Regions from separate parts of the Homo sapiens genome. Here regions 2, 3, 4, 5, 6 and 7 are each linked to region 1. The links are contacts of gene promoters, found by promoter capture Hi-C in blood cells and fetal thymus (Javierre and others, 2016). All regions are on one chromosome and are shown on one strand. Each heading gives the region's core, a stretch centred on a gene start or on the middle of the fragment in contact. The rest is flanking DNA. Distances are from core to core; before and after follow the strand shown.

What was found. Contacts are between HindIII fragments. The CHiCAGO score rates a contact against its expected background, and 5 or more counts as called.
Region 2: a contact is called between the fragment with the promoter of SRFBP1 here and the fragment with the promoter of GIN1 in region 1, in 2 of 17 cell types (total B cells and fetal thymus). The highest score is 6.0, in total B cells.
Region 3: the fragment with the promoter of COX7C here is called in contact with the fragment with the promoter of GIN1 in region 1 in 2 of 17 cell types (total CD4 T cells and non-activated CD4 T cells); the score reaches 11.4 in total CD4 T cells.
Region 4: the fragment with the promoter of CETN3 here is called in contact with the fragment with the promoter of GIN1 in region 1 in 1 of 17 cell types (non-activated CD4 T cells); the score reaches 7.1 in non-activated CD4 T cells.
Region 5: a contact is called between the fragment with the promoter of FEM1C here and the fragment with the promoter of GIN1 in region 1, in 5 of 17 cell types (fetal thymus, total CD4 T cells, non-activated CD4 T cells and 2 more). The highest score is 12.1, in fetal thymus.
Region 6: a fragment that was not itself captured here is called in contact with the fragment with the promoter of GIN1 in region 1 in 1 of 17 cell types (total CD4 T cells); the score reaches 9.2 in total CD4 T cells.
Region 7: a contact is called between a fragment that was not itself captured here and the fragment with the promoter of GIN1 in region 1, in 1 of 17 cell types (non-activated CD4 T cells). The highest score is 6.8, in non-activated CD4 T cells.

What each region holds. Positions count from the first base shown.
Region 1 is chr5:103,118,217-103,122,535 of GRCh38, forward strand. It overlaps GIN1 (gypsy retrotransposon integrase 1), which reads right to left and starts at 1,922. Exons shown (of 8, transcript NM_017676.2): 1 at 1,848-1,922. PPIP5K2 (diphosphoinositol pentakisphosphate kinase 2) reads left to right here and starts at 2,085. Exons shown (of 31, transcript NM_001276277.3): 1 at 2,085-2,272. RefSeq lists enhancers at 1,058-1,559, 1,560-2,060, 1,896-2,155, 2,186-2,375, 2,426-2,485. The HindIII fragment of the contact is 9,897 bases long and covers 1,880-4,319 here.
Region 2 is chr5:121,959,386-121,963,704 of GRCh38, forward strand. It overlaps SRFBP1 (serum response factor binding protein 1), which reads left to right and starts at 2,590. Exons shown (of 8, transcript NM_152546.3): 1 at 2,590-2,683. The coding sequence starts at 2,648. RefSeq lists enhancers at 2,243-2,781, 2,526-2,575. The HindIII fragment of the contact is 3,156 bases long and covers 811-3,966 here.
Region 3 is chr5:86,615,902-86,620,220 of GRCh38, forward strand. COX7C (cytochrome c oxidase subunit 7C) reads left to right here and starts at 2,040. Exons shown (of 3, transcript NM_001867.3): 1 at 2,040-2,229; 2 at 3,452-3,595. The coding sequence starts at 2,155. The coding sequence ends at 3,568. RefSeq lists enhancers at 1,708-1,787, 1,799-2,464, 1,851-2,145, 2,078-2,167, 2,465-3,130. The HindIII fragment of the contact is 5,230 bases long and covers 1-3,839 here.
Region 4 is chr5:90,407,818-90,412,136 of GRCh38, forward strand. CETN3 (centrin 3) reads right to left here and starts at 1,939. Exons shown (of 5, transcript NM_004365.4): 1 at 1,828-1,939; 2 at 1-17. The coding sequence starts at 1,844. It overlaps LOC731157 (a long non-coding RNA gene), which reads left to right and starts at 2,183. Exons shown (of 2, transcript NR_105024.1): 1 at 2,183-2,487; 2 at 2,683-2,852. RefSeq lists an enhancer at 1,709-1,908. The HindIII fragment of the contact is 6,726 bases long and covers 1-2,029 here.
Region 5 is chr5:115,542,911-115,547,229 of GRCh38, forward strand. It overlaps FEM1C (fem-1 homolog C), which reads right to left and starts at 1,865. Exons shown (of 3, transcript NM_020177.3): 1 at 1,613-1,865; 2 at 40-773. The coding sequence starts at 583. RefSeq lists enhancers at 1,414-2,180, 1,722-2,016 and silencers at 1,446-1,615, 1,666-1,715, 1,816-2,155. The HindIII fragment of the contact is 1,787 bases long and covers 1,053-2,839 here.
Region 6 is chr5:91,279,167-91,283,485 of GRCh38, forward strand. No RefSeq gene overlaps it. Among named protein-coding and RNA genes, the nearest start is that of LUCAT1, 33 kb to the right of the region's middle. RefSeq lists enhancers at 352-1,293, 1,292-1,551, 1,294-2,235. The HindIII fragment of the contact is 1,095 bases long and covers 1,969-3,063 here.
Region 7 is chr5:91,374,484-91,378,802 of GRCh38, forward strand. ARRDC3 (arrestin domain containing 3) reads right to left here. Exons shown (of 8, transcript NM_020801.4): 2 at 4,211-4,292; 3 at 2,138-2,285; 4 at 1,028-1,130; 5 at 439-695. Among named protein-coding and RNA genes, the nearest start is that of ARRDC3-AS1, 3.7 kb to the right of the region's middle. The HindIII fragment of the contact is 4,797 bases long and covers 1-4,319 here.

The DNA.
Region 1 (4,319 bases), core at 672-3,171:
TGGCACTATAAGTAAACTGTGTCTAAGAAGGTATAGACTTAAGCCTTAGTATCTATGTTTGGAAAAGGACATAATATCTATCCCTTTTTTGCAATTACGAGGATGATTAAAAGTCCTTTGTATATGGTAATGTATAATTATTATCATATCTAAGTATTATCATCCATATCAGGCTGTTTAAAGTAACATAAAACCCTTTCTTTTCCCAAAATCTTCACCTACATGAAAAAATATTTTAAAATCTCTTTCCTTTCATTAATGGTGTTAATGTTTTATAGCAATGTTTATAAAGCTTCAGTGCTAAGAAGAAAATAATCAGAAGACTCACGAATTGTATCCTTTTATAACGATATAACAGTCTAATGCAGTTCACAAACTGCTGGTTCTGGAGGTAGAGAGACAGATGACAAGGAGAAATAGAAAATGCGTAAGAAAGAAAACTCAGTTCACGAAAAGCATAGCCTTTGAAGTAGTTAAAAGTTTTACTGCTAATAATTGGTATTCATATACAAAAGTAACGTAAATGAAAGTTGTTTTTTTTTTTTCAAAGCCCATACATATGAGAAAATGGCTTGAAACTGTAATATTCGAGACAAATATAAATATCTTCTTATACTCTGATTGCTAAGTAAAGGTATCATTTACAAGGGGGATTAAGTGGTTTCTACTACATAAAGAAAGACTGTCCTGGGACTTCTTTGGATATGCTCATATTTTCAAGAATTTCTCTTAAAATCATTACTTAATGTACTTAAACATGTAGGAATAAGAAAAAATGAAAGTGATTGATTACAACTTGTAGTTTTGCAAGAGGAATGTCAGGGTCACATTTGGTTAAGCTTTATACACTTTGTCCCCTCCATAAAAGCAAATAAAATCAACTCATTGCTTAATTCCTTTAATAATTTTGTGTTCAATAAAGTAAGGCAGTTAGGTATTATGTCAAGATTAGGACTTAACTGTTTCACCAAGGGTTAAAAACAAAGCCACCAATTTAAGCCCCTAAAAGGTTATAATACCCGCTGGTTCCATCTTAAAATCTGCAATTTTCAATCAACATGTTAACTTGGATCGGAATTCTGACATTTGAATTATTCTATTTTAAGCTCCAAAAAATGGACACGCACAATTTTATGCAACGTCAAGGACCTGTAAATTTAAATACACTTCTCTGTAATCTGGTTCACTTCAGAGTACAAATTCATTGAACAAAAAAATGCCTTCATCGCCATATGCATTCACATGAAGCCACATGGGATAAATGCATTTCCACTTTAAAAAGTATCTACTTTGGTTCAGAAATGCCCATTTAAGAAAAACCTACACTGAGATAAAGTGGACATTTTTCTTTTAAAACTACGTGACAGGATTCCCTCTTGACCTCACGTTTCTCCCCGCCACGTATTTAAATTTGGGGCAAAATTTCTGATTAAATGACTGATCAAAGTAATGGGGAGAATTCTTCAACGCCGGCCAAAAGTGCTTAGTCTCAAACGCTGTGAGGGAGCATTTCCTAAGCTTTGGGCGACTCGTTAACGGAATCTTAAGGGCAAGGTCCAACCACACTCAGAATCAGCAGGAAAATGACCGTTTGGTAAAACTCAATTACACCCAGTAGGCACCTCCCCAGGCCCGAAACAGCACTCGCCCTTTCTGCTCAGCTAGCGCGGGACATCGCAACGCCCAAGGCCCTCCTATCTCAAAGGCGCTTGCGCAAAATCTCCCCACAGACTCAATTAAACCCTTCCTTAGGCCGGTCGAGGCGAATGGTTTTGAAATTACTGTCGGGTTACGCCTCACTTTAAAAAACAGTAGGTATGACACAGCACACCAGAACGACCACTCACCGAGGTGGTCCTAAATTCAAACGACAGATTTAAGCTTCCTCTCGTGATTTATCTCGCGCTGCCGGAAGCGGAACTACCCGGGTCCTTTAGAGGGCAGTCCTTTGGGGAACCTTGGAACCACGGTCAGAAAGGTTAGGACTGATCATTTGGCTCTTGCCGGAAATCGTTCCGCCCGGTGAGGTTTCGGCGTGAGACCCGAGGAGGGCGGGGAAGAGGCGTGACGGAGATTCCTGAGGTGTAGTAGCCTGAGGTTCCCTTATGTGGCCCTATAGCTGTTACTGAAGGAAGTAGCCTACGTCCACGCCTACAACTGAAGTCTCTTGACAAACACCTCACCCCTGCCTCCGGGATGAAAGGGGGTAACCTAGACCTGAATGGGCTTGACCATCTCACAACTGCTCGCGTGACGACCGCATTCGTGGCAGGTGAGGGCCCAAAACCGGAGGAGAACCGGAGATGCGGAACCTGATCATGCCAGGGTTGAGGCGGCTGCTGGGCTTCTGCTTTGTCTCCTGTGCTCTGCAGACCCTAAACACATGCTCCACCGAGGGGCTTGTGCTGGAGAGAATGACAGCCTGGGCGTGGAGTGACAGTACAGCTTTGAGGGTCCTTTCGCGCCTTGATTTCTCCTCCTGCTCCCCCATGGCTTCCCTTTTTCATTTCTTGGGTTCGAGACGCCAGAAATTGAAGATCAGCTAAAAGGGAACCGCTGAGCTTCTACCCCACGCTGTGCCTGGCTCCACTGAAGTGATTAGCCTCGAGTTATGGGACTGCTGTGGGTAGAGGTGGCTTTTTAAAAAATTTTCTGCCTTAGTCTTTATCCCTCTCTCTGTCAACCCCACACCCACTTTAAAATAACAAAAGCCTCATGTGTTGCAGCTTTTCATAGTAGGGACCGAGGCTGCAGGGCACTGCCGCACCTAGTCATTTGGAGGTCGTTGCAGCCTTCTGCGCCTTGAAGAAGAAGGGGCCAGGGTGATGATCCCTGGATCTCATTCACGAGGTTCTTGACCACTTCCTGGGAGATTGCGACTCTTGGTGTCCTTTGGCTAGTAGTTGTCTTGCTGGAAGGCTTAACTGTGGAAGTGGGAAGCATAGCTGACCTTAGCACGTAAAATCCTCGCTCTACACTGGGACAGGATTTTGTTTTGCTATTGAGAATTCTTAAATGAAATAGATAATTTTTTTGTCTCAGATAGATAAAATAATAACGATAGTTGCCATTAACTGAGTCTTATGTGTGCCGAGTGCTTTACATAGTTTGTCATTTATTCCTCTCAACAATTCCAGGAGGTATGTTAGATTATTATCACCATTTTACAGAGTTAGAAATGGAGGCTTTGAACAGTCAAGCAACTTGCTCTATTAAACATTTGTTATAAGTAAACGTTTGAATCTGTGTTAAAAACCAGATCTGTCTGCCTTCAAAATCTGTATTCTATTGTCCTGTCCTGTTCTTCCTCGATTTCAATTTCTTCACTAACATTTTCAGTGTCTGAAAGTATCCATTCATTTAAAAAATTTTGGTGTACCTACTTATATGTCTGACAAAAGTTAGACATGATCTCTGTCTTTATGGAGCATTGTGATGCAGAATTAAGTAGTGCAGAACCCAGAATACTGTACTTACTGCAGCACAGGTTTATTTAAAGCAAATGACTAAACTGATTTGCAGAAAATTTTAAAATCAAAGGTTGCTGTTTTAAATGTTAAATTCATATGACTTTCAGAGTAGTTGTTGTGAGGGTATTAAACTGAACAATTGGTAGAACATCTGTTGATTACCCAAATAAGTGCTATGAACCAAGTTAAGTAGTGGGAATATATAGATTAGGTCCTCATTCTTTAAAAGCTCCCATGCAACCACAATATAGACAATGTTATGGACTATTAATTTTCTCACGTGGAAAAGGAATTGTGGTTATGTAGGAAGGTGTTCTTATTTTTAGCAGATACATACTAACGTACTTAGAGTTGAAGTGTGTTGATATCTAGTACTTTCAAATGGTACAGCAAGTGTATGTGTGTGTATGTGTCTGTGTGTATAAATAGCAAATATGGCAAAATGTTGGCAATTGTGAGTATAATGGTGGGCATATAGATGATTAACAAACTGTTCTTTCAACTTTTCCGAATATTTGAAATTTTTCATAATAAAAAGTTGGGGAGGAAAAAACCCAACCCTGATGGAAACAGATAAGTGAAAAGATAGATCCAAAATGCTGCGGAACATAGAAGATGGGAGAGGGTTTTTATGTGTATTTGGGGCCTAACAGAAGTGTGATAGTTCTCAGGAAAACCTTCACTGAAGACCTTTCAGTTGGTTTTTGAATGGCGGATAGGAACTTTCAAGGAGAGCAGTGAATTCCAGGCAGAAGGAAATGCAGGTTCAGCAAAAAGATATTAAATGAACGTTTGAAGAAGGAAAAAGAAATCAACAAGAAGGTTGTGTGGAACTTGGAATAGGCTTTT
Region 2 (4,319 bases), core at 1,340-3,839, about 19 Mb after region 1:
AATTAAAGTAGACTATCATAAATACTATAAGAATGACCCACTGGTAGACTATCATAAATACTATAAATATGACCCACTGGTGAGCAAAATTAAACTTATCTTTGGGGATGTGGAAATAATTATTAAAAGGGATGGATGGAATTTGACCTGGTCTTGAGAAATAGCACTTGAGCAAGCAGATGTAGCAGAGGAAGCATCATAGCTAAGGGAGACAGCATGGGCTAAGGAGGAAAACAACTAAGCAAGTGCTGATCCTGAGGAGACTGGTGGTTTAAGAACTGAGATTTTAGGGAGCAAAAGAAGTAGTCAAGAGAAAACACTGCAAAGCTTTTCAGAGTTACAGGCAAATTTTGTATTAGTAATACATTTTCTGAAGCATTATGGGATCATAATAACTCCTTTCTCCCAAATTCGAAGACAGATTTTCAATAAAGCTCTCTATTTATCTTGATTATTTGACATTCCTTCGTATGTATTTATATGCAAAGTGTACACTACCCACCTGGAGCTGAAAAAGCTCCTACACTCCAGGAGTTCAGCTTTAATGACAGAAGGTAGACAAAGGAAACAATTACAATTCAGCGTACTATTTAGTAGTGGCAAATCTACCTTCATGTAACACTGGTCCAACAGGAAGTCATCTGTTAAATCCATTTGTGTCCAAATAATGCACCAAACTAAAAGAATGCCAATTTCTTTTACCAAGTCAGAGCTATTCTAAGCGGAGTTCAGTTTTATGAGATAACAGCATGGGTTCTGGACAAGGCTGGTTTCTTCGGCAAAGGCTCAGAAGTGGGCCTTGGTTAACTAAGCTTTGGGCACAGTCTTGAAATTATTAGTGATTTCCTTTTTGAATTTGAGTTTTGTAAGTGAAGTCTAGTGGGATAATGGAACATGTGCCAAGGCCTTGTTGTCTCAGGTCATGTGTGGTCCTGTCCCCAAAAGCTCCTCAGGTGGATTCTCTGGTTTCCTGCTCTCCTGTCTCCACCCAGCAACTGCTGCCACCTTGCTCCAGTGTATACACTCCTACCTGAGTCTTGGGGCAGGGGTCTCAGGCACCTTTGAGGGTCTGCCCTGACAACCTAATGTCTCTGTGCTTTAGGGAGCATCGTATTAAATAGTAAATTAACAAACACCATGATGAGTCAAGAGACGCTATGGAAGAAACTTTTTTTTTTTTTTGAGACGAAGTTTCACTCTTGTTGCCCAGTCTGGAGTGATCTTGGCTCACGGCAACCTCCGCCTCCCAGGTTCAAGTGATTCTCCTGCCTCAGCCTCCCGAGTAGCTGGGATTACAAGCATGCGTCACCACGGTCGGCTAATTTTGTATTTTTAGTAGAGACGGGGTTTCTCCACGTTGGTCAGGCTGGTCTCGAACTCCCGACCTCAGGTGATCCGCCCGCCTAGGCTTCCTAAAGTACTGGGATTACAGGCATGAGCCACCACCCTCCGCCGGAAGAAACGTTTTTCCTGCATTTTGAATAAAGGGGCCTGGATTTTCATTTTGCACTGTACCCCAGGTATTATGTAGCTGGACTTGAAGTCCTGTAGCAGTGGACAGTCCCAGGCAAGTGACTCTGGGCGAGGCACTTGGTGCCTCTGAAGTCACTTTCCACATCTGTAAAATAATAGTTCAGAGCAGAGTAGGGTGGCTCACTCCTGTAGTCCTAGTTATTTGGAAGGCTGAGGTGAGAGGATGGCTTGAGCCCAAGAGTTTGAGGCTGCAGTGAGCTATGACTGTGCCACTGCACACCAGCCTGGATGACAAAGAGAGACTGGGTCTCTAACAAAATAATATTAATAAAAGGAAAATAATTTCTATCTTGTTGGATTTCTGTGGAGATTTGGAGCTAATTTATGTAAAGCTCTTGGACCACCATTTGACACATTTTAATGGTCAATACTAGAAGGTGTTGACAATTATATATTACCTAATTCAAACACACTCCCTTACGTCTCCTATGCTTGCCGGCTAATAAACAGCCATTCCCACAGGCAGTACCAAATGTGTATCCTGGTTTTGCTTCAAATGTTTATTCCCTAAATTTAAACCCTTCTATAGTGTGCAGGAAAAAAATGTCCGCACCTCAGCTATAATGTCAGGTTGTAACAAAAAACTGCGAGGATTTAAAAAGGTGTGCTTGTTAGAAAAGCAGAAATCTTCACAAATACTAGATTTAAAAAAATGGAAGCAAAAAATCGTTCATTCAAGTGATCATTTCAGAAGAGCTCTTTCACCGCCGTTCAGCGCCCCCCTAGCCATTAGAGAGAAAAACCAAGGCCGGTACAATGCGAGCGCAGTGTACCAAGGGAACACACACACACACACACACACACACACACACACACACACACACACACAAACCGAATCTTGAAAAACTAGACGTTGCCCAGCTACCAGCCCCCGTCTGGTTTCCATAGGAACGCGCAATTCCGTTGCGTAGCCCTCTGCGCCGGTAGTTGTTCTGTCTCAGTTCCGGTTTTCCCTTCCAAGCGTCAATGTTTCTTGTTCCCAGGCGGCAGCTAGAGCAGAAGGCGGATGAGTTTTGGACAGAAGAGGCTTCCGTTGAGGGGCGTGGCGACGCAGCCGCGGTCTGAGAGACCGGTTCACGTGCAGGCAGCGGCGGATCATATTCCTTCATCTACCATGGCTCAGCCGGGAACTCTGAACCTCAATAACGAGGTGAGCGCCGAGGAACCTATGGGGCTGACTTTAAGGGTCCTCAAAACCAGCTCTTTTGAGACGCGTGGTCGGAGGCGGGCATAGAGGGTGCGGTTGGAGGAACTTTCGTGGTGGGCCCAGGCGGGTTTCCCGCAACTTGGAGTTTGGCAACCGGTAATTTCCCTTTTCGGTCTCCAGGTGACTAAAGTGAGAGACATGTGTCAGGCCCCACGAATTTATGTCTGTGGGACTTTGGGAAGAACCTTTAGCCTGTACGTTCAATATTCTCGTCTGTAAAGCGGAACTCAAGATAGTTCGTCCCAGGGTTGTGAGATTAACTGAGATACGTAAAGTATTTGCAAGTGCCTGACCCTTAATAAACTTTCAGTACACATTACCTGCTCTTTATTGCCTGTCGAAAATGAAAGAGAGAAAGTAAGAGCTGTAGCTTCTAAGAAATTGGTGGTCTTGAATGAGACTGTATGCTCAGTACTTCGTTTCCTCTTCCAGTTAGTGTCCTATTTCTTTGCTTCCGTTTACAGCAGAACTTCAATAAAGAGCTGTTTATACTTGCTATCCTCAATTCTTTTTTCTGCTTTTTCAGTCCATTCTCATCAGACATTTGTTCTCACCACCGTCACTTCCATAGTGTGCGGTGTCGACAAAATACCATTTCTACCACTTATCCCCCTCTGGTTTCTGCTTCTATTCAACAAAATAATGTCATCCAAAGTCTTAAAGTAAGCTGGAAACATAAGGATCGAGTAAGGACCTCACAGTTAGATACAGAAAGGAAATTCTTTATCCCGTTTATGAGCAAGTCACTGTTTAGATTACACACAGTAGTGTAAGGGATATTTCATATTTTCTAGTAACCTATACTCAAGTAAGAGAGCTAAGCAACACTCACCTGTGTTACAGAACAATGTGTGAAGAATGCCTCCAAAACCTAGTAATGCAGAAAAGTTTCCAAAGGCGGCAAAATGAAATGGGTGATACTTGTCCTTGGTCTTTAGGGATCTTGCACAGGAATTGCAGTCAGTGATTCAGGAAAGGGGAAGAAGTCATTCCAGGCAGAGGGACTGGTATAAGCAGGAAAGGGCTAGTAGCAGAAGAACCCGTGGGTAATACAGGGATAAGTAACTCTTCACTGATGGGAACTTGTGAGATGAAGAAGGAAATAAAACTGAAATATATTCTCTGCTGCCAGATTAACGAGTCAGGATTTCAGTTGACAGTGGAGTACAGGATATGCTGAAGAGGGAAGCTGAAAGTAGTTACTATTTACTCATAAACATACATTAAGCTTGTGCTTTGTGCCAGAAAGCGTTTGGTGGGCTATTTTGCATTAGGTTACCTGTGATGTATGAAAGATCAGAGTAATGTCCCTGGGATTTCAACCCCAGGGAGCTTCATATCAAATTTTGTAATGACTTTGATGATGGAAATGACAGGGGATGAGTCATTAAAGACTCTTTTCACACTTAGCTAACTTTTGTTCTTCTTCAAAACAGTTAAAATTTGACCTTTAGGAAACCTTCATTAACTCCTCTCGGTCTGGGTTAGGTGTCTGTTCTTTGTGCACCCAGATTGCTTTCTCCTCTGGAAACACTTATGTAACTGTTTCTGTCTTCCTGTGTTTATGTGTCTATCATGT
Region 3 (4,319 bases), core at 790-3,289, about 17 Mb before region 1:
AAGATAGCTTCACTCACATGCCCGGCACTTGAGTGTAACCACCACCCTCCCCCATATTTACATAGGTATAAACTTTTTTTTTTTTTTTTTTTGAGATGGAGTCTCGCTCTGTCGCCCAGGCTGGAGTGCAGTGGTGTGATCTCGGCTCACTGCACGCTCTGCCTCCCGGGTTCACACCATTCTCCTGCCCCCGCCTCCCAAGTAGCTGGGACTACAGGCGCCCGACACCACGCCCGGCTAATTTTTTGTATTTTTAGTAGAGACGGGGTTTCACCGTGTTAGCCAGGATGGTCTCAATCTCCTGACCTCGTGATCCGCCTGCCTTGGCCTCCCAAAGTGCTGGGATTACAGGCGTGAGCCACCGCGCCCGGCCAAACATATTTTTTTTTTTTGTATTTAACTTACCACAAAGCCCATGAGAAGGCAGACAGTTCTGAAACCATATTCTGGAATCTCTGCCCTGCAGGTCCCTAAAGAGTTAACTCAAAGCCAGATACCCAATGGAGGCTCAATTAATGTGAATTAGAAGCAACAATGAACCAAATCCACAGATAACATTACTCACACTAGATTGAAAAGTGTAATCTAGAAATATTAAGTGTGAAAAAGTTTCTCAATTATAGTTAAATCAGAATTCTTTAATATGTAAAGGCAGTGAACGGAATGTTAAAAAAAAATGGAATGTCACATAACTTCTATAAATTAGGTGGTAGAGGACACCAGTTATGATGCATTTCATGAACCCCTACTCAAAAAGAAGCTACTTGTTGAAACAAAATATGAATTTAAGTGTTTTTTTTAAGTGTTTTTTTGGGGGGGAGGGGCATGGTTGTTCTCTTCCAAAAACTGAAAAAAAAAAAAAAAAAAAAGACGAAAAGAGCATATATGTTATGCCCTTTTCAAAGCAAACCTTAGGTCTTATTGGAATTGTTTCCTAATGCTATATAAATGAGACACGTGAGGCAATATACACTCCCCCACAGATGAATAACATAACATTTAGGTTACCAGGGCCTTTCACAATCTAACCTAACACCACTTTCCCAGGTTCATTTATCACTGGTTTCTTCTCAATACCTTCTGGTCAAAGACCACCAGAAGCACACATGTAATTGACAAACGGGGTTTATTATTCATTGCAGTAAGGGTTCTCTGTAAAATATTAGAAAATGCTTATTGGATTTGGGATTTTTTTCTCCTAATATTGGCTACCTTACCAAATCTTAGGAGGAAGAAAGGCTAGATCAAGGCTAAGATTGTAATTGGTAAAGAAGCAGAAGTCATCAAATTAAACCAGATAGGGTGATGTCCGGTCATTTTCGTGGCTTGGACAATGTTTTATCTGTGTTCAGATGTGATTACACAGTGATCATATTCTTTTCTTAATGAACACTGTCAGAGTGGTCTTGTTGGATGCTAATGCTTGCTGAAATTGTGTACGTTCATCAGGCGGACACCAGTTCCTAGTCCAGGCTAGCTCCAGGTGTCAGAGGCCACTTTTCCCTTCTACTCCTCACACATGCTGTACTCATACCAGACTTGAGTTTTCCCTGCCCTTTGTTCTTCCTTCTTTTTTATTCGATTCCCATTATCTTTAGTGATCATTCCCTTAGCATTTCAGTTTTCTCTCTGAAGTCCTTTGTGCTGCACGTTGTTTGATTACTTGTGTTTATGCTTTGTTTCTTCAGCTAGGATCATTAGCACATATCTCTCAGCATTGGCAAAAGTCCTCGAAATCATTGACACCTAGCATATACTTTATTTTTAAAAAAGAAAGAAAGAAGAGAAAAGGGATGGGTTTATTGTCCTTTTCAACAGACTAGAGTATACGGGGTGAAACTGCTTCACTTGATTCAATAAAATCGTTTCCGGTAACAGGCCCCAGGAATCCTAGACCTAAGCCTGGCGCGAAACTACATTTCCCACAATCCTTCGGGGGCTGATAAGGCTCCGCAATGGTCTGAACTACAATTCCCACAATCCAGGGCGATTTCCGCTTTGTCGCGTTTCCTCAAGGCTCCGCCCCATTTCCCATCTTTCTTTTCAGTCCTTGCGCACCGGGGAACAAGGTCGTGAAAAAAAAGGTCTTGGTGAGGTGCCGCCATTTCATCTGTCCTCATTCTCTGCGCCTTTCGCAGAGCTTCCAGCAGCGGTATGTTGGGCCAGAGCATCCGGAGGTTCACAACCTCTGTGGTCCGTAGGAGCCACTATGAGGAGGGCCCTGGGAAGGTTAGTGTGTAAGGGGCACGGCTTCGTTGGGGGAGGGGGCGCTTGGCTGTGACTCGCGCACCTGCAAGGCCGCCTCCGGGCTGTGGCGTGGGAGATGATAGCCAGAAACCAGGCTGAGACGCAGACTAGCATTCCACTTAGCCCAAGGACCAGTGAGGAAGCTGGGCATCCTAGCGCGTAGCCGCTAAAGGAATGGGCAGGTAGATCCGGAAGCCCTGCCTCCATCAGCCACCTGACGCCCCCTCCCCCGCCCCGCAGAAAGCCCTGAGATGGCTCCGGGAGGCCACGGCTGTAGGTGTGTTGGTTAAATCCGAGCTGGAGGTCATCGGACCCGAAATGAAGGTCATTGGAAAATCATGAGGAAATCAGGGCCTCTGGTTATGGAACAGGCTTTTTAAACTAGCTGCCTAAGTTAGAAGTACTAACCCTTCACCTCAGTTAAGGCTGGGTTTGGCCTCAGGTGTAAATAACTTAAACCACATAGCAGTAACAATCTCGGAGGGTCACACGAGGCCTAGTCATAAAGGCCAGAGAAGGTGCTTGGTAATGAAAAACAAACAAACAAAAAAAACTGTGGGCCAGGTGCGGTGGCGCACGCCTGTAATCGGGAGGCTAAGGCGTTCGGATCACCTGAGGTCAGGAGTTCCAGACCAGCCTGGCCAACATGGCGAAACCCTGTCTCTACTAAAAAGTACAAAAAAATTAGCCGGACGTGGTGGTGTGTGCCTCTAATCCCAGCTACTCGGGAGGCTGAGGCAGGAGAATCGCTTGAACCCGGGAGGTGGAGGTTGCAGTGAGCCGAGATCGGGCCACTGCACTCCAGCCTGGACAGAGCGGGACTCCGTCTCAAAAAAAAAAAAAAAGAAAAAAAAAGAGCTGTATTGCACTTAACATTGCCATGTATCTTCTAAGGTGACTACTTAGGACAGTAGTTTTTTCGATTTTCTAAAGTAAGAAACTTCTCACTATTTGACGTTTGAGTCCTCAAGACCATTCATTGCCTAGTGCTTAGTAAAGCCAGATTATTTCTTGCCATGTAGTGTTTTGTGATGAAGGTCATAGGATTTGAAAGATAAATGTTTAAAACGATGTTATGATTTATGGCATATGTTAACCTGATGATGTAAAATATAACTAGCATTTCCTGTATACTTGTATTTTGATTATTAAGCAGATGATTTGAGATTCAATTTCGATTACTTTTTCTCTTTTTTTCCAACAGAATTTGCCATTTTCAGTGGAAAACAAGTGGTCGTTACTAGCTAAGATGTGTTTGTACTTTGGATCTGCATTTGCTACACCCTTCCTTGTAGTAAGACACCAACTGCTTAAAACATAAGGATGTTTCAGTTCCTCCATTTAACAGGTAGTTAGTGGATTTCTAATCATGTTAAAGCAGGCCTTTTTATTAAGTAGCCTCTTCCCCATCACCCAGAACACACACACAAATACATTGTTGTGTAGGGCTGATTCCTGAGGTTATGTGTAGATGTGGCATTGGTGGAGACTAGTTGTAAACCTATATAAAAATATTTCAATAATGGCCAGTGTTTATTGAATACTACTGCTTATCAGGTACACTTTACATCGATATCTCATGTTCTCTAGCAAGCTTGTGAGGCGGATGATAGTAACCCCATCTGAGACACAGAGATGTTAAGTTGTTCAACATCTCATAACTAGTATAATGGTGGACCAGGACTCTTGCCCAGGCAGTTTCTTGTTGCAGAACTCACACTTTTAACCAGGTAAAACTGATAAACTGATTAATGTTACTCTATCTTGAACACTGTTACTAGAACAGTAGCTGAGAATGTGTCTTTTAAAACACTATAAACATTTCCATTTCTTTTAGAAAGTGGTCACTGTGCTCCTAGTTTTTAAATTGGCTTACAATACTTGTTTAAGTTGTGAAAAATCCCTGAAGATAAAACCCTTCTAGTGCTCCTTGATACATAAGTCCCAGATAATTATGCAATTGTAAATCTGTGCCTCACCAACTCAGCCATGTTGGGAAACTCAAACTTTTAAATATACTTTCCTCATTAAGGCAGTGGTTCTTAAATGAGGATGATTTTACAACACAATGG
Region 4 (4,319 bases), core at 689-3,188, about 13 Mb before region 1:
CCACTACAAGCTCACTTCTATGAAATGGAAAGAAAAAGCCCTTAGTCCACTTTAATTCTCTTTACTAACAGAAATTAGCCAATAATTACCTTCTAAATTTCAAAAAAGAAAGTACTTTGGAGAAAGATAGGGAAACTTTCCCTTTATGAGTCAATGACCTGTTTATTCCATAGTCTAAATTGCTATAAATCTGAACTTCGCAAAACTAAAGAGTGTTACAGATTATTAAAAGAAATGAGGACCAAACTTTTCTTTTTCCCAGCTTTTTATTTATTCCCACTAATGTTACTGTGGAAGAAACAAGAACTGTGAATAAGCAACACTACTTTTATGTCTGAAACTCCAACCAACTCCAACCAAAAAAACAAAAACACGTTATCCTACAAGAATGTTAAAGAATTTAAAAAAAATCTCCAAATGAAACCAAAATTCATAACTGACAATCACTATATATCGGTTTACTGTTGATAGTTCTGATAATTATGTTCATAAAATTACAAAAAAAAAGTGAATTAACTTATACAGTATTTTAGCACTGTTGGTTCAAAATGTTTTTAGATTACACGTTTTTAACAGTTTGGCAATTTATGTGTCATTTCCTCCATTGATATTAACAAACCATCGAAAATATTAATGAGTCTAAACATATGACAAATATTAGATGCCAATATACAATGTTTGTGCTTCATTCTATATAAAAATGTGATGAGTCTTGTCTCATTTAACATGTAAACCGGAGGTTAACTTCTCATAAACTCTGGAAACGCTTAAAGAAAAAAAGCAAAAATTATTTTAAAGCCAGAAATGTTTTCCTTAAGAGCTGCCCATCTAAATGTGCTCCAAATTTTCAAATGGAGCCGCAACACTGGAATAACGAGTTTTGAAACACAATCCGGTAACACATTAACATGTCAAACCAGTTGACTGTACTTAAAACACCTATCTAGTTGCATTTGAAAGTCGTTTTGGTCTCTGAAAGCTCCAAAAAAAAAAAAAAAAAGCTAGGAAGTGACTAGTAGGTGCAGTATAACAAAGCTGAGGAAGATCTTCCTTTCATGAGACCTGACTTGACACAAACTTGGGTATTCCTGGGGTCAGTCTTTTCCTTCCTGAGACTTTTGGAGGCCAAGTCCAGAACCGACCCACCCCTGACCCCATCCAAGGGTACCATGATTATCCCTTAGCAGAACATGGAATATTTTCGGAGTGTCGTAAGTGTATGGATAGTTTTACGGTACAACGTCTACATAGTGGGAGAGGGCAACAGAGGGTTAGAGGTTAGAACTGAAAGGTAAAAAAATGCAAGAAATTTAGGAAATCCAAGAGACAGACTGCCAATTAAAGTCACTAAAATGGGTCTCCAATTACACCGTAAAGCAGGGCCCTGGGAGAAGAGGAAAGAGTTTTTGTTATTTCCAAAATTTATAGGTGGGTGATTGCATTAGCAGCGGAGCAGCCGAGGTGGGGCCCTGACCAGGCACACGGATGAATGAAGGGATGTCCGCGACCTGATCTGAGAAACAAGAGTAGAAGCCTCGCGATATTTCATTCCCACCTCGCTCGCAACTAAGCCCAACCTTCTGGCAGTCCAAAGCCCTACGCGCTGACAGAAATAACCTCCTTAGCAGAAATGCACTGGTCTCGTTCCCTGCAGGGCATCAGAGCCCAGAGGGTGAGTGATCCGGGCAGGCTGCCCTAGGCTCCTTTCCCGCGTCCCAAACTACATCCCCTGCCTCGCCTCGGCCCCAAACGTCCTCCCTTCCACACACACCCTCCCTGGGCCCCGCTCCGGGGTGTGGAGAGCACTGCCGCCTCCTTATTACCGACCTCAGAGCTAAACTCATTATCTCTTCGCACAGAGACGTTCCTCTCAAGAACGATTTTAACCCCCTACCCAAGGCAGCAAGACGCCCACAGCCGTTCAACAGACACGAACGACCTCAGCGGCCTCAGGGACCTCCCACAACATAGACACTTTTGAGCTGGATTGGTTGAAATGTCGCTATGGTTCTGCCTATTAGGGGGCGGAAGCTTTACCAGTTCTATTTTCATTGGGTAGGTTTTACGTCAATCAAGGAAAAAAAAATTTTTTTTCTGTGCCCCGCCCACCTCCTAACGCCCCCCCGCCCCCCCAATCTAGGGCCGCTCTCGCCCTTCGGATTGGCTCGATGCGTTTTTCCCCGAATCCTTTGCGGGTCCGGCCTCCGATCCCTGTGTGGCTGTTTGGCGGGTGGGCGCTGTGTTCCTCTCTCGTAAAGCCGTGCGGTCTGTGGGCCGCCATTCAGAAACTGGATGGACAGCTTCGGCGGTGGGAAGGGAAGGGACATGCTGCAGGCCACCCTCCGGCTAGAAGGAGGGAGTACTTGAGGAACAAGGTCTGCGAAAATTGGCTGTGCTCTGTTCTAAAACTTGGAATGGCCTCAGTACCTGGGGAATGTGTTTAAAATGCAGACTTAAATGTCCGTTTCTCCATTCTAATTTCAGTAGGTATGAATCTGCGTTTTTACTCCTCACAAGCCTTCCAAGTGATTCTGAGGCAGGTGCTGTGGCTGTACTTGGATTATCACAGGGTTAGATTATCAGGCTATTTATGATTTAGCTGTATCTAAACCACCTTTCCCTCTCTTTCCTCCTTTGAACTGTTTGAAACGGATTTGTTCCCTTCTGTCTCTTATTTTTCAGTGCTGTAAGCTGTTAACACACATGAGACTGTCTTCACTACCAAACCAAGTCTCCTAAAGCTCACTTGAATGTCTGCTTATTCGTGTCTCTTACTAGGTTCAATTTCTTGGAGGCCGTGATTATATCTATTTAACGCTTTTCCTTGTACCTAATAAAATGTCTGGTGCGTAGGTGCTCGGTAAATTGAGTGGAATCTTTTGAAAATCCACAAAATACTGAGCTAAACAGCAAATCTCATAAACGTGAATAAAATAGCCTGAGGATGGGAGTTGAAGGCGGAGAATATATAAACATTATATGTTTAAGGGATGTATATAAAATTTTAGAGAAGGGAGAGAACACAAGATATGCTTCTTAAAGGAGGTGACATAAACGTTAGACCTAGAAGGATGGGCTAAATTTGCACAAGGAAAGATAGTATGATAGAATAAGCTAAAAATTAGCTAAGGGATAGCACCCCTAAAAAACAAAAGTGGAACTTTTATTTTGTTCGTATTTTAAATTTTAAAGTACCTTTATAAATCACCTTTGAGTCTAAAAGGAAAGAGAAATTGTAGTTACTAGAACATAATGATATTGAAAAAAACTATATGTTAAAATTTTAAGATACAGACCAAGTTATAGGAGAACATTATTTTAAATAAGAAAGAATAAAAATAGGCCAAGCATTTATTTGAAGATGTTAGAAACGAAGAACAAATTGTATAATTGAAATTAGGAAGAGGAAATTAGTAAAGATAAAGTTTGAGAACAGTGTTTTAAAAGGAAATTGGTAAAATTGATAAAGTACTCATAATCTAGTATAAAGCTGGTTTTTGGCAATACCAGTGAAATTCAAAGACTTATAGGAAGTGTAACAAGAAAAGGAATAGTGCCACTAGTAAGGTTGGTAATTTAATAAAAGGGAGGTTTAAAAATTATTAAAATATTTTATACAATTTTATACCGCCAATAAATATTAATAGAAAATGAAATAGTCACTTTTCAAGGAAAACATAACTCAAAAAAGGTGGAAAACTGAATTAAGTCAATAACTACAGACAGGACTGGAACAAAGATGCCAAAGTTCTGTACTCACAAATAAAAAGCCTCCAGCCCACTCAGATTTATGATTAAAAATCATAAGAGCTAAATCTTGTGCTTTAAACTCAAGTCATAGAAAATGATGGAGAGCTTCTTAGCTTAATTTTTGAAGCTGCCATAATCTTTCACATCCTAAAAGAACATTTAAAGTCACTCAGTGTAAGCTCAGTGATGATGAAGGCTATGCATGTTTCTCACCATTGTATCCCCAGTGCCTGACTCATGTTTGATGTTCATTTGTGAACTTAAGTGCAAAATTCCTAGATGTTAGCAAAGTCAGTTTGATACTGTCTTAAAGGAACATTTCTCTATAACTAAATTGAGTTTTTTTTTGTTAAGTGCAAAGATAATTCAAAATATAAATCTGTGTTAAATAATTATAATGTTAGGTTAAGGAAATCATCTCAGTGTCAAAAAGGCACTGAATAATAGGTAACACCTTTTCTATTAGGATATAAAGTGGGTTTAGAAAATACTTTTTTAAATATGATCGGCAGAATACTTAAACACCAGTGTTTCTCAAACCTCATTCCTGAAACACTAGGATTTTGTGA
Region 5 (4,319 bases), core at 615-3,114, about 12 Mb after region 1:
AGTGGTAGACATTTAGAAAAACAAAGAAGCTGAACTCACCTTTGACACTTTTTCTATTAACATCTGCCCCCTTTTCAAGTAAATACTGAGCAATCTCTTTATGTCCTTTGTAACATGAAATCATCAAGCACGTATGCCCATGTCGGTTTGACACTTCCAAATCAGCTTTGTGTTCTACAAGGTACTTCACTATTTCCAAATGGCCATCGAAACACGCAGCTCGAAGAGGAGTTGAATTGGTTAAAGTCGTGTTGTTGACAGATGCTCCATGATTTAACAAGGACTGGACCACCTTCAGATGTCCTGCTGCAGAAGCGGCCCATAAAGGGGGAGCCCCCTCAATGGTTTCGCCATCAAAATTGACGGAGCCCCCAACTTCTATGGAGGCACTGCATTGCTCTAGGAGGAATTCCACCATGTCAAGGTGCCCATACCTGGCGGCCATCAAGAGTGGCGTGGCCCCATTTGTTTTTTCAGAGATCAAGGAGGAAACCTCCTCTTTGGATTTGCTTGCCAACAATTTGGTGAGAAGCCGGAGTTTGCCATCCCGAGCTGCGTTAAATACTGCTGTCTTTAGATCCATTTATGTCCAGTTGAGAGGCTGTGCTTTATTTATCTTTCAAAGCAGAGCTCCAGTTTAACTCTATCGACACAGGCAAGAGTCACAGGAACCAAAGTCCAATGTTAATTGCTGCACCCCAGAACGGATACACAACCACGAAGAGTATGTTCCGTCCTACTGCTTTCCAACATCTGACAACCAGGGCACCAAACTAGAGAAAGAAAAAAAAAGTAGCAGCATTTAATTTTCTATAGAAGAAGGCAAAACACTTCTTAATTTCCACTTCTGTGGGAAGAAAGGAATAAAAGCTATACTTCAGGCACTACTCCATCCCACACACCCCCCCCACCCCCAAAGAAAAGGTGGTAAAGAAAAATACAGAAGGATACACAGAGACCCAAATGTTCTGGTCGCAGGCAGTCTCCTCCATGTGCGGAAAATTTAAACACTACAGGCAGCCCGTTTTCTCGCCTCCAGCTCTAACCAGCCAAGCTTTGTTCTAGTTTTGCTTTGCACACGCCCAGGGAGAGTACAACCGAAAGAGGCAGGAGACTCGGGTTCAGAAATGTTTCTCTTTCTTGCAACTGCAGGAGAGCTGGCCAAGGGCGCCAGGCTGGAAGGCCTGAGGCCGGGTTTCGAGAAAGAACAAAAAGGTCGGACACACCAAACCCCGGCTAAGGCCAAAACTGTGCCCCGAAAGATTCTCTTTCCTTTAAAACTACTCACGGCTCTCAGGAAATCCGCCTGCCTTTTAGTCATTAACTTCGCCCGCCCCATTTCGATCACCCCCCACCCCCCGCCAAGGGATGATCCGCAGGTTCCTCAAACCACAGTCGCCCCAACACAACCTTCCCCTCTCCCTGTTCCAGACAACGGCAGCCCCCTCCCAATCTCCTCCATCGACCACAACCCCCTCCCGATGGGCCAAGCTGTGGCCTCCAGCCCGCTGCCCGCCTTCGGCTCCCCCGGCGCCCTCCTTCCCGCCCAGGCCTTCCGCGGGCACCTCAGGCCCCGGCCCGAGCCCTGGCAGGCCGCTGCCGCCGCCACTACCTGCCCGGGGACTAGTCCTCCCCGCCGCCGCTGGTCACTCGGGCTTTGTCCGTCCCCTTCAAAGGGAAACCGTTGTCCCCACCGCCGCCCGGGCCGCCCTGCTCCGCCTGCGGCCGCACAGCTCCTCCATGCTCCGCGCCCCAAAGGAATGAATCCGGCCGCGCTGTTCGCCACGCCCCGCCACCCGAGCTGCCTCCCGCCCTTAGTCGGCTCGGACTGCAGCGGCTGCAGCGACTGCTGCGACGGATGGTGTAATGGGCTGCGAGCCGGGGGCCGGACAAGCCTGAGCGTCACATCACTGACTGTGCCGCCACGCCATTGGGCCGGGGGAGGGCGGCGGCCGCGGCCAGCAACAGCCTAGGCGCGGGGCGGGGCGTCGCGGCCGGGGTGGGGCGACGGGGAGGGGGCGGGGCCTGAACTACTGGGAGGACGTGCCTGCGTGCAACGCGCTGGGGGGCGGGGCGCTGCGAGGGGGCGGATCTGTGCCCATCGAAGCGGCCCGAGGCAGCTCGAGTTCTGAGATCTCGCTGGCTCTTCTCCTCTCGGATTTTCGGGGTGCTCCCTTAGGGAATCTTTCGGTCCCATCTCAGAGACCCCAGAAGGGAAGTGTATTAGTGCGTTTTCACGCTGCTGATAAAGACATACCCGAGATTGGGTAATTTATAAAGATAAAAAGATTTAATGCACTCAGAGTTCCACGTGGCTGGGGAGGCCTCACAATCAAGCCAGAAGGGGAAAGGCACGTCTTACATGGCAGCAGGCAAGAGAGGAAAATCAGAGCCAAGGAAAAAGGGAAACCCCATATAAAACAATCAGCTCTCCTGAGACGTACTCACTACCACCAGAGCAGCATGGGGGAAACAGCCTTCTTGATTCAATTATCTCCCACTAGGTCCCTCCCACAATATGTGGGAATCATGGGAGCTAAAATTCAAATTTGGGTGCGGACCAGTATTACCCTCACACACGTGAAGTCTCTCGGACTAGTCTTCCGTCCTTACTTTGGTGGGCCCTGGAAATTACCAAGCTCGTAATTACACCTCAGAACACACACGGAGGAAACTGAAATTTCAGAAAATGTGATTAGTTTTGGAGGCTGTCAAACTGACTCTCTTTCTAAAGTAGCCTCTAAAAAGCATAAAGGCTACGAGGAATGGTAAACCCTAAGAGCAATGTAAAGTCAATGAGGTCAGGTTCTTGAGCTCTGAGTAATAAATCGGGAACTAAAGCTTAAAAGGTTATATATATGAATGAAAAGAATTACTTCTTCATATAGTAGTTGATAAACCTCTGGAATTTGATGCTAAAACCTACGTTGCATTAAACTAGGATGAAAAAGTTTAAATGTGTTTGGGAAATAACGCCCATAATGAATCCTGATGAGAAAACAGAATTTTTGAAAATGGACCTTCAATCACTTTGTTTGAGGGAACTTAAGCTCACATAATTCCTTAGTACCACTAGGAGAAATAGAATATTACAGTAGGCAGTCTGACCCTCAGCATATGTAATCCATAACGTTATGTTAGAAGTCATGCAGCACTAAAAACATTTATAAAAAATCACAACTTCATTTTTGTATATTGTAGTGTTGTTCAGAAGTTTATGTAGTTTTGCATAATTGAAATAATTTTCATACAACTATATATTTTGCTTTTCCTTTCTATACTCTAAACGTTTCTTATGTTTTTACAGTCTTAATAATTTTTAAGTATAGCATAGTATTTCCCTTAGGTAGTCAGTATCAGACTACACTCAACATCAGATTCCCAAAACTGAAGTTAAGGTAATTGCCACTGAGAAGAAAATATAAAAGAATAGAGTATAAAGGATAAGATTGACCATCCATAAAAATTAACCAGCCAAGAGGACTGGCTGTTTTATCCCCAGCATATGTCACAGTTCTATACTCTCCCAGGGTACAGATAACAGTGTACAGTGTCCCAACCAAGGCCTAACCTGAGCTGACCTGTCTCTCTCACCTAATTCAATAAGATGTAAACATTCACATCAGCCATCTTCAAACTGAGCTCTGTATCCCTCATGGGATTGTTAAGGGATAGACGGACACTTAGTTTAAAGGCTACCAATTTCTGCTGTGGCTCACACCTGTAATCCCAGAACTTTCGGAGGCTGAGACAGGCAGATTGCTTGAACCCAAGAGGTCGAGACCAGCCTGGACAACATGGTGAAATCCCAACTCCACACACACGCACACACACATGCACGCACACGCACACACACACAAAAAATTAGTCAGGCATGGCATGCAGGAGGCTGAGGTGGCAGGATCACCTGAGCTGAGCTGGGGAGATCAAGGCTATAGTGAGCCATGATCACACCACTGTGCTGCAGCCTGGGCCACAGAAGGAAACTCTGTCAAAAAAAAAAAAAAAAAAAGGCTACCAGTTTCTGAATCTTCAATTTACACCTACGTTCTTTCCTAAAATTGATCTGCTGGTAAAGGAATATGGTCAAGGTGTCTCATTTCCCAACTCTTTCACAATAGCTGTATGTTTCCCAATTTGTAAAAGGAAAGACATTTGAGAATCTTACAGGCATTGCTCTGGGTTATAAAAGGCTCAGCAATCTTTGCCAATTCTTTATAAATTTAAAACACTGATCTATATTAGAAAGTGTATACTTCTAATGACTGGGTAACAAATTCTTTTGCAAGTCAGATGATTTCCAAATAATTGCTTTGAAA
Region 6 (4,319 bases), core at 1,266-3,765, about 12 Mb before region 1:
CCTTCTCTCTTTAAAGAAAAAAAAAAAAAAAGAAAAGAAATTTGTCTATATAAATATACAGTTAAAGCAAACAATATAATATATAAAACCAAATTTGGAAATATTTTTTCCTTCCATCAAAACTTAAACATCAATTTTAGAACACAGTGTTCTATATCGTAAGGAGTCCTAGAGTCTACCCAGTATAATGTCTCACATCCTCGCCCTCTTGCTATAGTTGTCAAACCTAAATGTACCTAAGAATCACTGATAGGTAGTTGGTTAATACGATGGATTATTTCTAGGCCCCGACCTCAGACAGGTGCCTCCATGCCCCCACCCAGCCAGGACATTCTGAGTCTGTAATTTGAAGTGAGCTTCAAGAATCTGCATTTTTACCGCGGCGCTTTTGATGCAGGCGGTCCACGGTAAAGTTAGAGAAATGCTGCCCTGCTGCTGCGCTGCAGATTGAACTCTGGGGAAGAAGAAATGAGCACGACCGGGAGCGGTCCATCTAAACCGGTCCATTTAGATGGACAGGTTTTAGCAGTCCATCTAAATCTGTCTCAGGAGCTTTCTTTCTTTCTTTTTTTTTTTTTTTTTTTTTTTTTGAGACGGAGTCTCGCTCTGTCGCCCAGGCTGGAGTGCAGTGGCACTCACTGCAAGCTCCGCCTCCCAGGTTCACGCCATTCTCCTGCCTCAGCCTCCCGAGTAGCTGGGACTACAAGCGCCCACCACTACGCCCGGCTAATTTTTTGTATTTTTTAATAGAGGCGGTGTTTCACCGTGTTAGCCAGGACGGTCTCGATCTCCTGACCTCGTGATCCGCCCGCCTCGGCCTCCCAGAGTGATGGGATTACAGGCGTGAGCCACCGCGCCCGGCCTGTCTCAGGAACTTTCAAAGGGGAGTGGCAGACAGAAAATGAGCACGGTATCTAATCAGCAAGTAGGATTGCAAATAAGAACGCCTTTATGAAGGCCCCAGTTTTTACAGTAAGTCCCTCACTGCCCGCACACAACGATGCCAAGTTCCAACCTGATTTGCGTCACCACAGTTGTGGGTTTGCGCCAAGGTTAGTTATCAAGCGTAGTGAGAGGATAAATTCACAAAATGAGGGACAAAAATAAGACGAGAGCTGGGTACAACGGAAGTGAAACCTGGGTGGAGGTCATCTCCAAATCACAGTGGAAGGACGATGTCAGGGATTTGTCCCAACACTCTTTTGATGAAAGAATTTGATTAGTGGACTATTGCACTCTTAAAGGCAAAGAAAACAAAGCACGGCAGTGCCCCGCTCGGTCGGGATTCAAAAGCAGTGAAAGCTGCCTTGCTCTGTTTAAAGCGACAGGACTGCTCTGCTATTCAGGAAAGACTAAGGAGGCAGCGGTATCTGCGAAGTCCTGCGAGCTCCCGGCGACAGGAGTAGCGCGAGCAGCTGACGGGGGAAATCCACTGGCAGCGAGTCGGATGAGTCAGCGCTGAGTCACGCTCGGCGCTACGTGCCGGCCTGGGCGGCCGCAGCCCGGGGCCCGCAGCCGCGGAGTCAGCAGAGATCCGCCGCTTCCTGGAAGACCCTCCCTGCGCCTGAGGGAGGGGGCGGCGTCGCCTCCTCGCGCCGCCAAGGCCCCCTGCAGTCACACACTCGCCCGCACGCACGACCTCCTCGCTCCATCCTGGGGACATCCAGGATTCACCCCCGAGGGGAAGAGTCCCATGTGACAAATGGTTAGAGCTTGGGCGGATGCTTTCATCCCATGTGTTTCCTCAAAGCTGAGATTCCAGCGCTCTTGCTCTTTTCGTGTTGTTGTTAGGTTTTTAACTTTTTTTTCCCGTTTCCTGGCAGAGGATTAACACGCTGATCTTTTTATAGTTTCCAATATTTTAAATGAAGCACAAGAAGAATGGATTAATAAAACGTGTTGAAACTTAAGCATCAAATCGTCACACTGCTCTGGGTTCTAAAATGACTAGAAAGTGACTGCACTAGAAGCTTTGAATGTTGGGTAACTGGGAAGGATTAACTCGGTTCTGATGTGCCCTTTGTTAATGAAAATCAAATCTTTGCTATTTGTCCAACCACCCTTATAATAACTAAATTTGTCTAAAGACTGGAGACATGTGTGGTAATAATTAGATATGGAGTCACCAAAGAACAGGGTAGCCATGCCTTTGTGTTTTCTGTGCCTTAACTAACATTCTGTTGTCCTAATGTGCAAATGATACATTGTTGGTTTTAAAAAATATTATGGCAATGTTTATATCCATGCTGAGAGTTAATAGCAGGTATTGTGTCATGAAGTGCAGCTAGTCAGTGAGATAGTCCTGATACAGGTGGGGTAATTATTATTTAGGGACAATTTGCGGCTGTTTTTCAAGACAGACTGGGTCTTTAGAAGTTGTGCCAGCTGTTACCGGTGGTTCTGCTTCATTGGGAGAATTATTTCCCTCCTTATCCCTGTGTACGTGTGAAATGATGCAAAACAATAGAGTGTTCGTGTAGTTTGACTGCTTTTCTTGCAGGCAAGGAGACTGAAGTAATTAGAGGTTGAACTGACTCACCAAGGTTACTGGAGAAGCATGACTACCCAATTTTGTAAAGGAGAGAAAAGCCCCAAACAAATACAAATAGGAAACATGAAAATACGAGAGAGGATCAGAGCCCAAGAAAGCAAAATGAGTAATATGGACCAGAAATGGAATCTCATATACTTGAACTAGTTGTAATGGGAGGTATACTTAATGCGCTAGCCTTAAAAAAAAAGTCAAATTATTGCATAAAAATTTAAGATTTTAAGTAATTACATACATCATTTGATGTTTTAAAAACTGTGCCTGATTCTGATTCATTATTCTTAGCATATCCATATGGATATTGCCTTGGCATTTACCAAGTCAGACTTCAGTTCAAAAACCCAAATTCATCTTATGACGGTGTGAACTTGGACTTGATACTTAGCTTCTCTAAGCCTATAATGGAGATTATAATCACCATTTCACCTGTTTGCAAAGCAGGCAGGATTAAATGAGATGATGCCTATAAAAGGTTTAGCACATTTCCATGCAAAAAATTTCTCAGTAAACGAAGCTTGTATTGTGTTATCAGTATTATTGAACTTGACTAAACTATTGATCAGATCACAAAGAGGTAGTACAGGTACTTTGTCCAGATCCTAGAACTAATAAAAGCTTTGGGAATGTACATCACAAACGTAGTGGTTCAGTGACTGATATGGTTTGGCTCTGTGTCCCCACCCAAATCTCATCTCGATTTGTAATCCCCACGTGTCAAGGGAGGGACCTGTAATCCCCATGTATCGAGGGAGGGAGGGGATTGGACCATGGAGTCAGTTTCCCCCATGCTGTTCTCGTGATAGTGAGTTCTCATGAGATCTGATGGTTTTATAAGTGTTTGGTAGCCCCTCCTTCATTCTTCTCTTTCGTTCCACTTTCTGAAAAAGGTCCTCGCTTCCCCTTCACTTTCTGCCATGATTGTAAGTTTCCTGAGGCCCCCCACCCAGCCATGTGAAACTGTGAGTCAATTAAACCTCTTTTTTTTCTTATAAATTACTCAGTCTCAAGTATTTCTTTATATATAGAGTGTGAAAACAGACTAATACAGTGACCTTGGGCAAGATCCTTAGACAAGAGTCTAAAACACCTGAGCAAGTACTTAATGTTCTTTGATTATGAGTGGAGAGATGAAAGAAATAAAGGAAATCTAAATAAAAGGAATGCCCTACAATCATCAGTTGGCCAGAAAAGTGGTAGGTGATGCAAAACAACCAGGCAAGAACGCTTTTCTCCCATCCTCGGAGAGAGCTCCTTGACAAAGTACCATAGCAGTCACTGGGCAGAGAGGATATACTATTGTACTATTGCCCCTTTGCCATACAGGAATGCATTATTTAGCTGAGACAGAAATTTGGTTCTGTCCAGATATAAGGCTGATGAGCTTAGCTGTTGATAGAAGTTAGTGACCAATCTCCCATCAACTTCCCCAAGCAGCTCATAAGAGATAAGTCACTAAGTCATTTTCTTTTTTTCTTTTTCTTTTTTTTGATGGGGTCTTGCTCTGTTGTCCAGGCTGGAGTGCAGTGACATGATCTCAGCTCACTGCAACCTCTGCCTCCTGGGTTCAAGTAATTCTCCTGCCTCAGCCTCCCAAGTAGCTAGGACAGGCACACACCACCACCCCCAGCTAATTTTTTGTATTTTTAGTAGAGGTGGGGTTTCACCATGTTGGCCAGGCTGGTCTTGAACTCCTGATCTCAAGTATCTGCCTGTCTCCAACCCCCAACGTGCTAGGATTACAGGTGTGAGCCACCGCACCCAGTAATAA
Region 7 (4,319 bases), core at 753-3,252, about 12 Mb before region 1:
TATTTTATATGTCACTATATATGGAATTTAAAAAAATCAAATCCTGGATGTAAGACAAAACTATGTCATAACTTTAAGACTTAAAAACAAAACAAAAAAAAACACCAAAAACCTCTTGGGCCAGGCACTGTGGCTCATGCCTATAATTCCAACATTTTGGGAGGCCATGGTGGATGGATCACTTGAGCCCAGGAGTTCAAGACCAACCTGGGCGACATGGTCAAACTCCATCACTACAAAAAATACAAAAATTATCCAGGCATGGCTATAGGCACACCTGTAGTCCCAACTACTTGGGAGCTGAGGTGGGAGGATCACTGGAGCCCAGAAAGCAGAGGCTGTAGCGGAGCTGAGACTGTGCCACTGCATTCCAGCCTGGGTGACAGGTGTTTCAAAAAAGAAAAAAGAAAGGAAAAAACCTCTTAAATGTGTACATACCATTAGTGAATATTCCACGCGGATTATACTACAGTCGAGGATAGAGGGAGAAACTGGTGGAATTTTCAGCAACTTGCCATTCCACGTCTCTGTCTTTCCAGATGATAAGGATTCCCCACGCAAGTTAGCCACAAGCTGTTTTACTTCCTTCATTTTCCCTTTGGCATAGAAGGCCTGTGTTTGGTAAATGGCTGCCTTTGGCACCACCATTCGGGAAGAGCAGTTCTCAATCTCAGCAAATATCTGAATTGATTCACCTAGAGAGGGAAAAATATATACATATCTACTGTTAGAAAAAAACAACAAAAGAAGTCAAGATTCTTAAAGCTAAAGTAAGAAAGTGCAACTAACATACATGAAAAGATGTCCCAGGAACTGCAAATAACTTGAGTCATAGAAATGAACTAATCAGTAGCTATTTGAAAAAGGAAACTACATTCTACTTTGTGAAAAAAACAAATGGATAAGCACAATTTGTTATTTCACAAAAGAATACTATATTATGTTTATATTTAGTAGTCATATTATAAATTTAAACACAAAAGCTAAGTGAAGAAAAGTTTTTTGTGGGAATCTACCTCTTACATACCTGGGGTATAGCCCTTCCTTTCAATTTTGGCACTTAAGGATATTGGGCCTGAGGTACAGAACCAGCAACAGAGTGTCTTTTCTTTTGTGCCTGCTTGGGGTGACTGTAAGAAAAAAATTAAGAGAAAAAGGTCAGTGTATGGATTGGTACAATCAATACCAGAATATTTTAAAATATAACCCTAAATTTATGGAAAATTAAAAATTACAACTGGTTTTGCTTTTTTTTTGTATCCAGACATACTTCTTATTTTTTAACTAACCGATGGTTTTGAATTATACCATTACTTTTATTTTCATATAAATTTCCATTCAATTAGAAAAAAAAGGTAAAGGGTTTACAGCCTATCCCATAAACATAGTTTTTTAGCTCACACTATTTACAAATATAGTAATCAAAAACCAACCAAATAAAAAAAACCCTTTCCACATTCCATTTAAACTGCCTTAAAAAGGCAGCAAAGAAAGCAATCTGATTATAATTCCAAATGTTAACATCTTTCTCTGAGACTATTAAAAAATCAATATGTAAAAAAGGAAAATGCCCATTTCTTATGTGCTTTAAAGATGTTACCATTTGTTTAAATCAAATAAAGTTTTAAGTCAAATTTGAATTATTTTCAGACAAATGCAATTAAAAATAGATTTCTTTAAAAAAGGAGTTTTTTAATGAAACTAATGATTCCCCATTATTTGACAACTATCCCTCTATTGGAATAACAAAGTATAGTACAAATTTTAGATTATGATATTGTCAAGTAAGTGATATTGTATTATAATAAAAGATACTACTGCTCTTCTTCCACTCAAATCATCCAAGGACCAGATCTGTTTTTTGTTATGGCTGTCATACTCTGAGTAAGAGATACTTCATATCATATACTGGTCTTAGTTTTATATTTACTTAAAGGTATACTACAATGTCAAAAATATGAGCATATTTTTCATTAATTTCAGTGTTCTTGACTGTATTTAAGAAAATGTATATTTATGAAATTTTAAAAGAAAACCAGTATTTTTAAATTATGACAACTGCATAGTTTAGGTGATTGATTATTCTTTAATATTTATATGCCAAAAACAAAGAATAAATAATTCAGTCAATTCTTACCAGTAATGAAGGAGTGTTGATATCTATATGCTCAAAGACTGTAAATTCCTTCTTTAATTTTACTGGTAGTAGCCAAGGCCTGTGCAATTCGGCTTTCACCCAATAGCGCACACTGCCATGTCGGCCTTCGAATGAGGTAGCGAGTGGTCTGTGCAGAATATAAAGGTCAATATATTAATTTTATACCTCTTTCTAACAATTACACAGTAGGTCAGAATAGAAGTGTTAATATATTGTATTGTTTATGTTCCAATGAGGTATCAAACATATAATTTAAAAAATTTCCAAAGGGATAAGTCACTGGGGAAAAAACTTCCTATTTCCAACTAAGAATAAACAATAAATATCTTTAAAATTTTGCTTTAAAAAGCCAGAAGAATACAATCCATTTAAACTAAGAGGAGGCTACTTTTAATGATGGTGGCAAAATCATGAAAGTTTAATGGGCATTTTTTGAAAAGGCCAAGAATTCAAACACAAAGTTGAGAATGGTTTAACTATTTCTACTGATAAATTCTAGACACTGGTTAAACATTCAGACCAAATTCCCTATAGTACTCCACTTCTCATTAGCCGGGAATTATCATCTTTTAATAGCAACTAACTAAGGTCTAGAAAAGGCCTGGAATAGTCATTATAGTTTCAAAAATTTCACATTTCCTAAGTTTACTGAAAAACTACTTTTGTATCTCTCAGTTTACTCATGTTCTAATTCTTGTTTGGCTGTTCTCTAACTTTACGGGCTTCAAAAGAAAAAGATATAGTCCTCTTGATCTATGTCAAGAGAATAAAAAAAAATTTTTTTTAACTCTGTCAGATTTTACTTGTGGAAGGTTTTATTTTAGCAAGTTCAGTATCTTTTTCATAATTTCATTAGTAAAATACTCAATGTTCAGTTATTTACAAGAGTGCTAGCTTAGATTAGCATAAGAAACACTGGTGTTTTCATAATTTTTTTTTTTTTTTGCATTTTAGACTCCCACATTAACTTGTATAGCAGAGAAATAAAATCTTAAACTGTATGCTAATAGTTATCCAAAATTTATGTTAAATGACTTTGGTTTATGGATAGAACTTTAACATTAAATGACGCTGAAAATACTCAGGCCCCATATTGGCCTTATTCTATCAACAGACTTTAATATTTTTCTCAGAAATTAGATGAGGGCATTATATTCCAAATAAAATTCTCAAATAATACAGTAAATAGAATTTTCTAAAAAATACCATTTATGACTTCTCTCTCTATATATAACATCTCAAGCACTAGAATTAACAAATGCAGAATTAATGTACATTTGTCACCTGACAAAATCTTATGTAATCTGTTTATTCTCCAGAATAATCACCACAAGTGCCATTTTGCAGGTTTTAATATTTGTTAAAAGGCATTTTTTTTTAAAAAGTTTGTATCATCTCTTCCAACAATCTGTCATTACTTTAAGAATATACCACTTTCCTTTTTCCTTTCTTACTAGATTCCAAGTTTTATATTAATGTATCCTTGATGCATGTTTCCTTTTAAGCCTGGGTCATATCTCTTGTGTGACCTTCCCAATAGTTCTTTGTACAGAAGCTATTAAGTTCATATCAGAAGAAAAACATTTCTAAAGTTAGGATATTCCTAATTATTTTTATTTTCGAAACTTACTGCTATTGGTTAGTATTAGCAGAAAAAGTAGAATATAGAATTTTTTATAAATTGAAGCTACTAAGACTTGATAGGGTCTATCTTTTCTCATAATGATAATTGATAATAAACTAAGTATAAAGTGGTTATTATTCGACTAGCAACTTCCAATTCACTCATGTTAAAGGAAACCCTATTCCTATTTTAAAAACCTCATAAACTTTAGGAAAGAATACTGAAAATTGAGTATGCTTTCTATAATTTTGCCACGCTAGATTAAAAAATAGCTTCTTATGTTTAATATATTGTTTTCCTCTAGCAAGTTTCAGTAATGAAAAGGGTTTTTTTTTCAACTAAAAATGTTTAAATTTAGAATACTTAATTTTAAAATAATGCTCTGATCATAAGTATCTATAAAAATGCCTATTATTTATAATACTTACGTCTGTGGAAGCTCGAAGCTGAATGCATATTCATGCCTTCCTGAATGAATAGTGTGGAAGCCTTCTTCGGAATTATCATCATCTAAAACAAACATAAAAAGAAAACAAA